2 separate regions of the Homo sapiens genome follow, and region 2 is linked to region 1. The links are contacts of gene promoters, found by promoter capture Hi-C in human tissues and cell types (Jung and others, 2019). All regions are on one chromosome and are shown on one strand. Each heading gives the region's core, a stretch centred on a gene start or on the middle of the fragment in contact. The rest is flanking DNA. Distances are from core to core; before and after follow the strand shown.

Region 1 (4,400 bases), core at 1,667-4,166:
GAGCTCTGACTACTTAAATGGAATTGTGCCAATGTGTGTTTCAAACTGGGATTTAAATGCAAAGTTTCAGGAACAGAAGTACAGGTTCGCTTAACATGCTCTCCATCAGTTTCCACTGGTGCTTCTCCATAGTCATCCAAGTGTTCCTTCTTAACTGTTGGCACCTTGTTTATCGTTTTTCCATTTGCATGAATGTCCGTTATCATTTTTTTCGCTGGGGGGCTGCCATCATCTCCCATCCCATTCAGTTTTTTAGTTGAGCCCTGAACCAAGGAGAAATTTGTCTGGAGGTTTTCCATGGTACACTCTTCTGTTAAATAATTAAGTCTGAGATTAGCATTTCTATTTAGTTGCTTATTTGAAAAGAGGAAAGTAATGAATGGATACAAATGCCTATCGTAACTTACTCTCAAACTTTCAAAGCGAGAGCCCCTTAAATTAATAAATTTTGCGACTTAGTTTTGGTTCTCCTTATAATCTGGTATAATTTCACTACAAATCCTATAAAATTGTTCGTTTTGCCTCTAATAATAAAGAAAAGAGGCACACCTCTGAGGATGCCTTTGTTTTCTTGAATTCTTCAGATATACATATTAAAATAAAGTTACCAATTTCTCAATTAAAGATGTCCAGGGTCAATGCAATGGTCTGGTTTGTTTTAACCAAAACACATGAAAAGTTTATGCCATTCCTTGTGCCATAAAATCTAGACTCAAACACAAGTCAAAATGATGCAACCAAATTTAATCTTTACCACCAAGGAAACCAAAAAGGAGGGCAGAGGGAGTATTTCCTCTAAAAATGATGGTCTGCTGGTCTGTGCTGAAAAACTGAAGACGTGTGTAAATCCTCACACCAGTAAGAACAGCCTCCGACTTAAAAAATTGCCCAGTTATCTTCAAGGATTATAGTTCATTCTTCTTTTAATTAATCTGGAAGAAGAGAAGGGGGGTTGGGGAAGAGTTACATTTGAATTTGCTCCAGAGGCCAAAGGGCCAATTTGAAACCAGTTTCTTTTATTTTTTTTTTTTTCTTTTTTTTACGGAGTCTCGCTCTGTCGCCCAGGCTGAAGTGCAGCGATCTCGGCATACTGCAACCTCCGCCTCCCGGGTTCAAGCAATTTTCCTGTCTCAGACTCCGGAGTAGCTGGGACTACAGGCACAAGCCACGACACCCGGCTAATTTTTTTGTATTTTTAGTAGAAACGGGGTTTCACCATATTAGTCAGGCTGGTCTTGAACTCCTGACCTCAGGTGATCCGCCCGCCCGGGCCTCCCAAAGTGCTGGAATTACAGGCGTGAGCCACCGCACCCGGCCGAAATCAGTTTCTTAATCTTAAACTGAGTTCAGTTTACCAAGGTGAAGCTTGAGTGATTTCTTTAAATCTAACACCAGTTTACTAGAAGAACATTCATTTAAATAGGAAAGCAATTTGGAGTTGCGTAAAGCGAGCAATAATATAACATAAAAGGCCTTTCGAGTTCAGAATATGAAGACTCTTAAGCAGATCATCTCAATTAGTAGTACCGGGGCTTTCTCAGCTATGCCATTTTAAGGGAGGGAAAAAAATCCATTACTTCATCTCCTATTTAAAAACAAAACAACAGTTTCATCCAAAAAAATCAGATAGGAGTTAACATATCTACCATATGTAACTAAGTTACAATTTTAAGTGGATTAATTCAGCTAGTCCGTGTACACTATTTTTCTGGAATGACTGCAGGCAAAAATTAACTTTCTCTTAAAAAAAGGTTAGCGATTTTACTTAATGGAAGCCAAAAGCTATAGACTCCACGCCTGGGAATCTCCATCCTTCAACAAGACTAATCCGGGACAAAAAGCACAAGGCAGACAAACCTCACAAAGAATGCAAATGGAGGAAGAGGGAAAAAGAAAAGACTCTTTTTCCACTTCCTTCTTGAGAGAAAAGCCAAAAGAAATCCAATAAATAGAAATTTTTGCTTCCCAAACTCTCAGCACTTTACCTTAAAACAGACCCAAAGGATTAAGGACCAATGCCACCAACCATCGTACAGACTTTCGTCCACCACAGGAACACACCTTACTCAACACAGGCCAAGGAAGAGAGCAAGAGGCATGACCTAGAATGGGGGAGCCCCTAAAACCCTGAAGTCCTCCGCCCACTCAAAGCCACCCACCTATCTCTAACCCGGAGAGAGGGAGAACAAGGGACACGGGAAGCCTGGGGGTGGGTGTGCAAGGGGGTGGAGGGAAGTAAAGGGAGGAGTCCCCCCACCCCCACCGGCGAGCCTGGGATAACCCCAAGTGCCCTCCCAACACCGCCCCCCCGCGGGGGCCGCGGGAAGGACTGTGGAAATCCACCCCCCCGCGCACCCTCTCCCTGGGAAGTTCTCGGGTGTCACCTCAGCGCCCCTAATGCTGCACCTCCCCGCGCCAGCCCCGGGCCAGAACGAAGAGGACACCAGGGCAGTTTAGGCGCCGGGCGCGGATCCCTGCGCCGCCGGGGGCTGACGGACCGGGTCGAGACCAGGGCATCCCCGCGGAGCGCTGCTGGACTGGGGGAGGGGGGCGGTGACGGGCGTCCGGGTCTCCGGGGTCCCCGCGGCTCCCGTCAACTACAGCGCCCTGCCCTGCCGGCGCCCACCGCCTGGGGCCAACGAAGCGTGATCAGCCGTGGAACACCCGCCTAGCGACCCCCTCTGGCCCCGACCCCACCCGGGACCCGCGCATCCAAACCCCCTACTCGGGCCTCGGTGCCCGGGTAAGCTCGACGAGCTTTGTGAATTCCCCACCGCCCCTGTCGCCGCCGTCGGGCTCCTAGGAGGGTGAGCGCCTCTGGCCTCCCGCCGCCTCCGCCGCGTCGCCGCCGTAAGCCGGAGCCGCACCTGTGCCCGCCGCCGCCGCCGTCGCCGCTCGCCCGCTCCCTTCGGCTGTGCCGGCGCGGCTCCGAACCCCACACACATCGCTACACACAGCCCTCTGACGTCACCGAGTCCTCGGCCCGCCCACGTCACTGCGGAGACACACAGCTTCCCGCAGACGCCGCCGCCGTCTCCGGCCGCCCGGGGGAGAGCGAGGGCGGCGGGGAGGGGGAGGGGAAGGGAACGGAGCCAGCGGCGGCGCCGCGCGCGCGGGCCCGCCGGCGTCGTCGCCGCCGCCGCCACTTCGCGGCTCCCGGCCCCCTCGTGGACGCGCGTGCCGTCTGGCCTATTGTGGCTCCTCAGAGCGCCCCCCTGGCCCCGTCGTCTCGCGCGCGTGCCCCTCCCCCCAGGCGCGCGCCCGGCGCTTCTGGCCCCGCGCGCCGTCTGGGAAGCTGGCGCGCGGCGCTGTCTGCGGTGCACCCGGCGCAGACAGGATGTTCCCTCCCCACCCCACCCTCACCGCCGCCCTCCCTCCTTCCTTCCTCTAGTCGCCCAGCCGGCTGTCTGGGGCCACCGCCCCGCCCCCGCCCCACCCGCCGCTCTGTGGTGATGGGCCAGACGCGGGGGCGCCCTGGCCGCTCGGACGCCGCGCAGCGGGGAAGAGGGGGCAGGGCAGCCGCGCGGTGCACTGTGCGCGACCCCAGCAGCCGGCAGGGCGGAGGCAGTGCCCGCCCGGCAGAGTGCCGCCGCCCGAGGTCAGGCACGGGCGACCCTCCCCCTGCGGGGCCGCAGCTGGGCCGCCCCGCCCCGGAGGCAGCCGGGCGGCGGCCGCCCTGCAGGGCCCCCGGGGCCGGCTCTGCTCCCCGCCCCCGCGGGACCTCCCTCCTGGGCTGCCCCTCGCCCCCGCGGGGCCTCCTGCCCGAGGGCCGCCCAGCCAGCTGCCGGCGCTCCGCCCCGCCCCGGCGGCCCCGGCCTCGCCCGGGCGGCCTCCACCCAGACGCCTTCCCCTGGCTGACCTCCATCCGCCATCGGGCCGGGCGGGAGGGGTGGCCAAAGTTCCGGCAAAACCGAGAGCAAACATTTCTGTCCCTACTCCCCAGCCTCCTGCCTCCACCCCACCAGGCTGCTCTCTCGGTTCCAGAAGGGAGCTATAAATTAAAGGTTTTTACAGTGTTTACTGAGGGTGTTTTTTTGTGTGTGTGTTTTTTTGGAGAGGGACGAGACGAGGTAGGGAAGATAGGACTCAAGAGCTTTCCGGCTGTGACCCTCTGAGGCGTGTAGGGTGGTCTTCCTGGTTCCCAGGGTAGCCGATTAGCATATTGAACTCTGCAGAGCTGCTCCGTCACATTTCGAAACACCAAGAAATCCCCTTTTCTCCACCCCACCACAAGATCAGGAACTGAAATAGTCCACCGAGTAGCAGTGCACAAAATTCAGGAGACTCGAGCTTTGTCCCTTTTTTCCCCCCCATTTTCGTCCAATTTCTTCTAGTTTTACTGCTTCGGGTTGTTCCTGTGGGGGCCCACATTTGCAGTCGGCCGGCTGGAAATACTCTTG
Region 2 (4,249 bases), core at 230-2,729, 360 kb before region 1:
ACGAAAGCATCCTAATCCAGGGTCCACTTGTGTGTGTGTATGCACATGTGTGTGTTTGAACATGTGTGTGTGAAGACGAAAATGAGTACATGCAGTTTTTGTATTGCTTCAGAAATTTATTAAAATTTATCACATTTGATCCATGACCAAAGTGCTATTTATGTGCATTACAACTAAAGTATGACTACATTTAAATTACCAAATAAGCCGAGCTGAATAATCTCTACAACTGAAAATGAGATGCTCCCTCTTTCTTGGCTCTGACTTAGCATTCCTTGATTGAATTACTGATAGTTCTGTTTCAATTTAGACCAACTTCTTCTCTTCATCAAGGGTCAATTTTGGCTCAGAGACACCATGTATTTTCAACTTCTCTTCAGATTGAATGTTTTGGTGACTATACTAGTACTGATGGTAATTATCAGGCAGAGATAGGGTACAAAGTCATCCTGTATAATAATTAGCACTCTCTCCTCCAATTTGACTTTCAACCTTAGGGTCAGTCAGAGACTCTGCAAAGCTTTGCAGGGACAGATATATCACTGCTGTCTTGATATGGTTTGTCTGTGTCCCCACCCAAATCTCATCTTGAATTCCCACGAGTTGTGTGAGAGACCTGGTGGGAGGTAACTGAATCATGGGGGCAAGTCTTTCCTGTACTGTTCTCATGACAGTGAATAAGTCTCACAAGATCTGATGGTTTTATAAAGAGGAGTTCCCCTGCACAAGCTCTCTTTCTTTGCCTGCTGCCATCCATGTAAGACATGACTTGCTTTTCCTTTCTTTCCACCATGATTGTGAGGCCTCCCAAGCCACGTGGAACTGTAAGTCCATTAAACCTCTTTTCCTTTGTAAATTACCCAATCTTGGGTATGTCTTTATCAGCAGCATAAGAATGGACTAATACATGTCTCCATATCTATGAGTTGTGGCACCTGTTTCTCTCATTCTGAGTTTTCATAGACTCTTGTGCAAGAAATTCTGCTTGAAAGAATTCATTTTTGCATTCTTGATCATTCTATTATATTCATTGAAATTACTTGTCACATGAACATTATCAGTGAGTTACCACAAGCATTGCAGTTACTCGTGTGCAACTTTATTATACTTCCACAAGTTATAGCACTATGGAGGATAAGAACTTTGCCATTCTATTCATCTTTCTGTGCACTTAGTAGATACTCAGTGAATGTTGCAGAATCTATGAGGAGTTGTCATTTCTAAATGAATGCTCTTCTAGAATAAATAAGAATTTTCAGGTGTTGACAAATGGTATTCTCTTTGATATAAACCAGTTCCAAATTGCTGAGTAGTTTAGAATTTGTTTGATGTTGTCAGTTTGGGCACAGCATCATTATTTTCAGCAGTAAGTACCATTTTTAAGTGGTTATCTATCTGCCAAGCACTGTGTTTAACATATAATTTTTTTCTAATCTACTAAATAATCCTGGATATAAATTCTACCATTTTGATTTTAAAGATAAAGAAAGTGAAGCTTAGAAAGGTTAAGTAACCCGACCAAGATTGCATATATAAACAGTGAGTAATGTTGCTGGGATTCTTACCACAGTGGGTCTGCATTCATCTTCTACATCATCATACCTCTCATAACCCAACTATAAGGAAAAAAAACAGAAACTCCAAAGATTGTTTGAGATGTGTAACTTATGCAGTGGGTAGCTTTTCTGGAAGCAAAACTATTTTACCTTTATATAGCATTTTAGAATGTATTAAGTACTTATTCATATTATGACTTTATTTGATCTTCACCGAAACCTTATAAGATATTGTTTTTATTTTTATAGTCCAAAGAATTTATAGATAATCTTACTGGATCAGAAAGACTAGAAACCTGCCCCAGGACAGAAGTTGCAGAGCCAGAACTAATCACAGGATTTCTGTGGTTTCTACATGATTCAGCATCCCAAAGATAGCAAGGAATCCTAAAAGACTGAACAGAGAAGCAGTCAGCGGATGGGCTCTAGTCTAACACTGTGGAAACAGAATTGGAAGTCAAATACGTGCCAAAATGTAATGCTGATAGCATGTACATTCAAAGAACATATATAGCAACCACACTTCAGTGCTGATTGGGCAGGGTTTCCATAGCAATATGATTTATTTCCAGTAGAATTTTTCAACTGAAAAGAGTAAGCTTCCCCTCATTAAAAGAAATAAATAAAAAGTTCATCAATATTTATTTTTCCATTATACACAGATCATAATGCCTGGTTATGGCAAAAAGACCGCAATTCCCACCAGAGAGCAAAAAGGAAGTAAAGCTACCATTGTTGATCTGAAACTAAATGGATTCTTGTCCGTTGTGAGGAGCAGCAGCCTACAAAGCACACTGAATGCCAAATGTGTTGCACCAGGGCTACAGGTCTGGCTCCTTCATACCTGCACTGTACTATAATGCACAGATGTTTACACTGGTCTTCCTTAAGTAGAAAAAAAATTAAAGAGGAAGTGAACGATTTTCTTCTAGCTTTCTGTAGGGCTAAGGGAACACTTAGGCTTGAATGGGGCAGAGAAGTCAAGAACTAGAAGAAAACAACAATAATAAAAGTTAACATTTTTTGCATTCTTACTTTGTGCTGGACGCTATTCTAAGCTTCTCCTATGAATTATCTCAGTTACTGTCCCCAACAGCCCCATGAGGTAGGTATTACTACTCTCCCTGGTTTACAGATGTGCAAACCAATGCGCAAGAAGTATCCTGTCCAAGGGCACACATTTGGGGATTGGCAAAGCTAGGATTTAAGCTCTGGAATTTTGGCCCTCAAACCTGAACTTTTAACTCCTTGTCCACACAGGGAAGGAAATTAAAAAGAGAAACTTTCATGCTCAAGCTTCTACGTGTCCTATGTGACCAAACTTGAGATCTTAAGCTGCAGGTTCGCTGGGATTTCCATCATCCCAGGCTGGCTCTTCATCCACAGACTAGGGTGCTTGGAGAATGAAAAGAGACTCACAAGAAGCAAAGCCATGAAACTGATAAAGGCATCTGTTTTTCTAATGCTTTTTCATAAACATACTCATTCCTCTATAATTTCAAATATACAGCTTTCTCCAAAACTCCCTCTACAGCTCAAAGTCTGCTGAAGCCCAGATTTTGGTGAAGCTGCAATTTGATTAGCTGATAATAATTATTTCAAGTTCAAACCTCCGATTTGAACTTGAAATAATTTGCCATTCAGCAATTGTCGTATTTGGAGAAATAGGGTCTGATCCACATTCCTTTCAGCCAAGGAATGATGATATTGTACAATGGCTGCATTCCACACACCAGCTATCTTTGATGACCTTGCAGATAAAAATATCTTGATTAAAAACAAGTACTTTGGCAGCTACTTGATGAGAGCAAAAACCAGAAAAGTTTTTCTGTGAGCTGGAGTAAGAAGATAAATATTGGGGAAGCAGTTTTGCATAGCCATTAATAATGTCACTTCTTCAGGAGGGTCAAATCTCATTTCTACCATCTACCAGTAACCTTGAACAAGTTATGTAACCCCTCTAAGGCTCAGTTTGCTCCTTTATAAAATGGGGCAAATGGTACCACCCTCATAGTGTTATAGAAATTAAGTGAGATAATAAATATTTAGCAGTTAGAATGGTATCTGGCACACTATAAGCCTCGGCCCTGGCTTCCTTTACCTTTGCATGCCAATGATACTAAACTTTTTGAAGTTGTCCAGACATGCCATGTTATATAAGGCATCAGTGCCTTTCTACTCTGCCTGGAAGTCCTATCTCTTATATATTCTCTTGAAAAATACCCTTCATTCTTCAAGTTCAGCTGAAGTTACTCATGTCTCACCCAGGCAGTCTTCCATATCTCTTCTATCCTTCCACTGTTTCTAGTAATCCACTTCATAATGCTTATTTAAACTGCAATGATTTGCCAGAATATCTTTCTCTTCATTCAACTATTTGAGTATATATTAATCCCCAGTGCCCAGCACAGAGCCTGGCACATGATGGGCACTCAATAAGTAGTTGTATTCAACAACTACTTATTGTAGTCAACAAATACTGAATTTCGGTATGAAATCCAGTCATATTCAACAAATTAAAATGATAAAATCTTCAGGAGGTAGTAACAATCTAATATCAATCAGAAGGGCTCTAACCATGAAATCTAAAGTACATTCCCACTTTGGTTTTAACTGAACCCCAAAGCTTTAGAAACTATAGTCCCATTAGACCCAGAAGAGATTATAGATAATTTTGTAATGAGGCCAGTGAA

Evidence for each region. The method cuts DNA at HindIII sites, captures the fragments that hold promoters and counts their contacts. A contact is called where the count stands out against the background at its distance.
Region 2: a fragment that was not itself captured here is called in contact with the fragment with the promoter of SKIL in region 1 in 1 of the 25 tissues and cell types used here (IMR-90 fibroblasts).

What each region holds. Positions count from the first base shown.
Region 1 is chr3:170,356,231-170,360,630 of GRCh38, reverse strand. It overlaps SKIL (SKI like proto-oncogene), which reads right to left and starts at 2,916. Exons shown (of 7, transcript NM_005414.5): 1 at 2,868-2,916; 2 at 1-932. The coding sequence starts at 299. RefSeq lists silencers at 2,334-2,403, 2,494-2,623, 2,674-2,903, 3,064-3,963 and an enhancer at 4,244-4,343. The HindIII fragment of the contact is 15,648 bases long and covers 1-4,400 here.
Region 2 is chr3:170,712,037-170,716,285 of GRCh38, reverse strand. All of the region lies in intron 3 of SLC7A14-AS1 (SLC7A14 antisense RNA 1), which reads right to left. It overlaps LOC124906302 (a long non-coding RNA gene), which reads left to right. Exons shown (of 3, transcript XR_007096159.1): 2 at 2,219-2,383. Among named protein-coding and RNA genes, the nearest start is that of SLC7A14, 130 kb to the right of the region's middle. The HindIII fragment of the contact is 4,077 bases long and covers 1-3,517 here.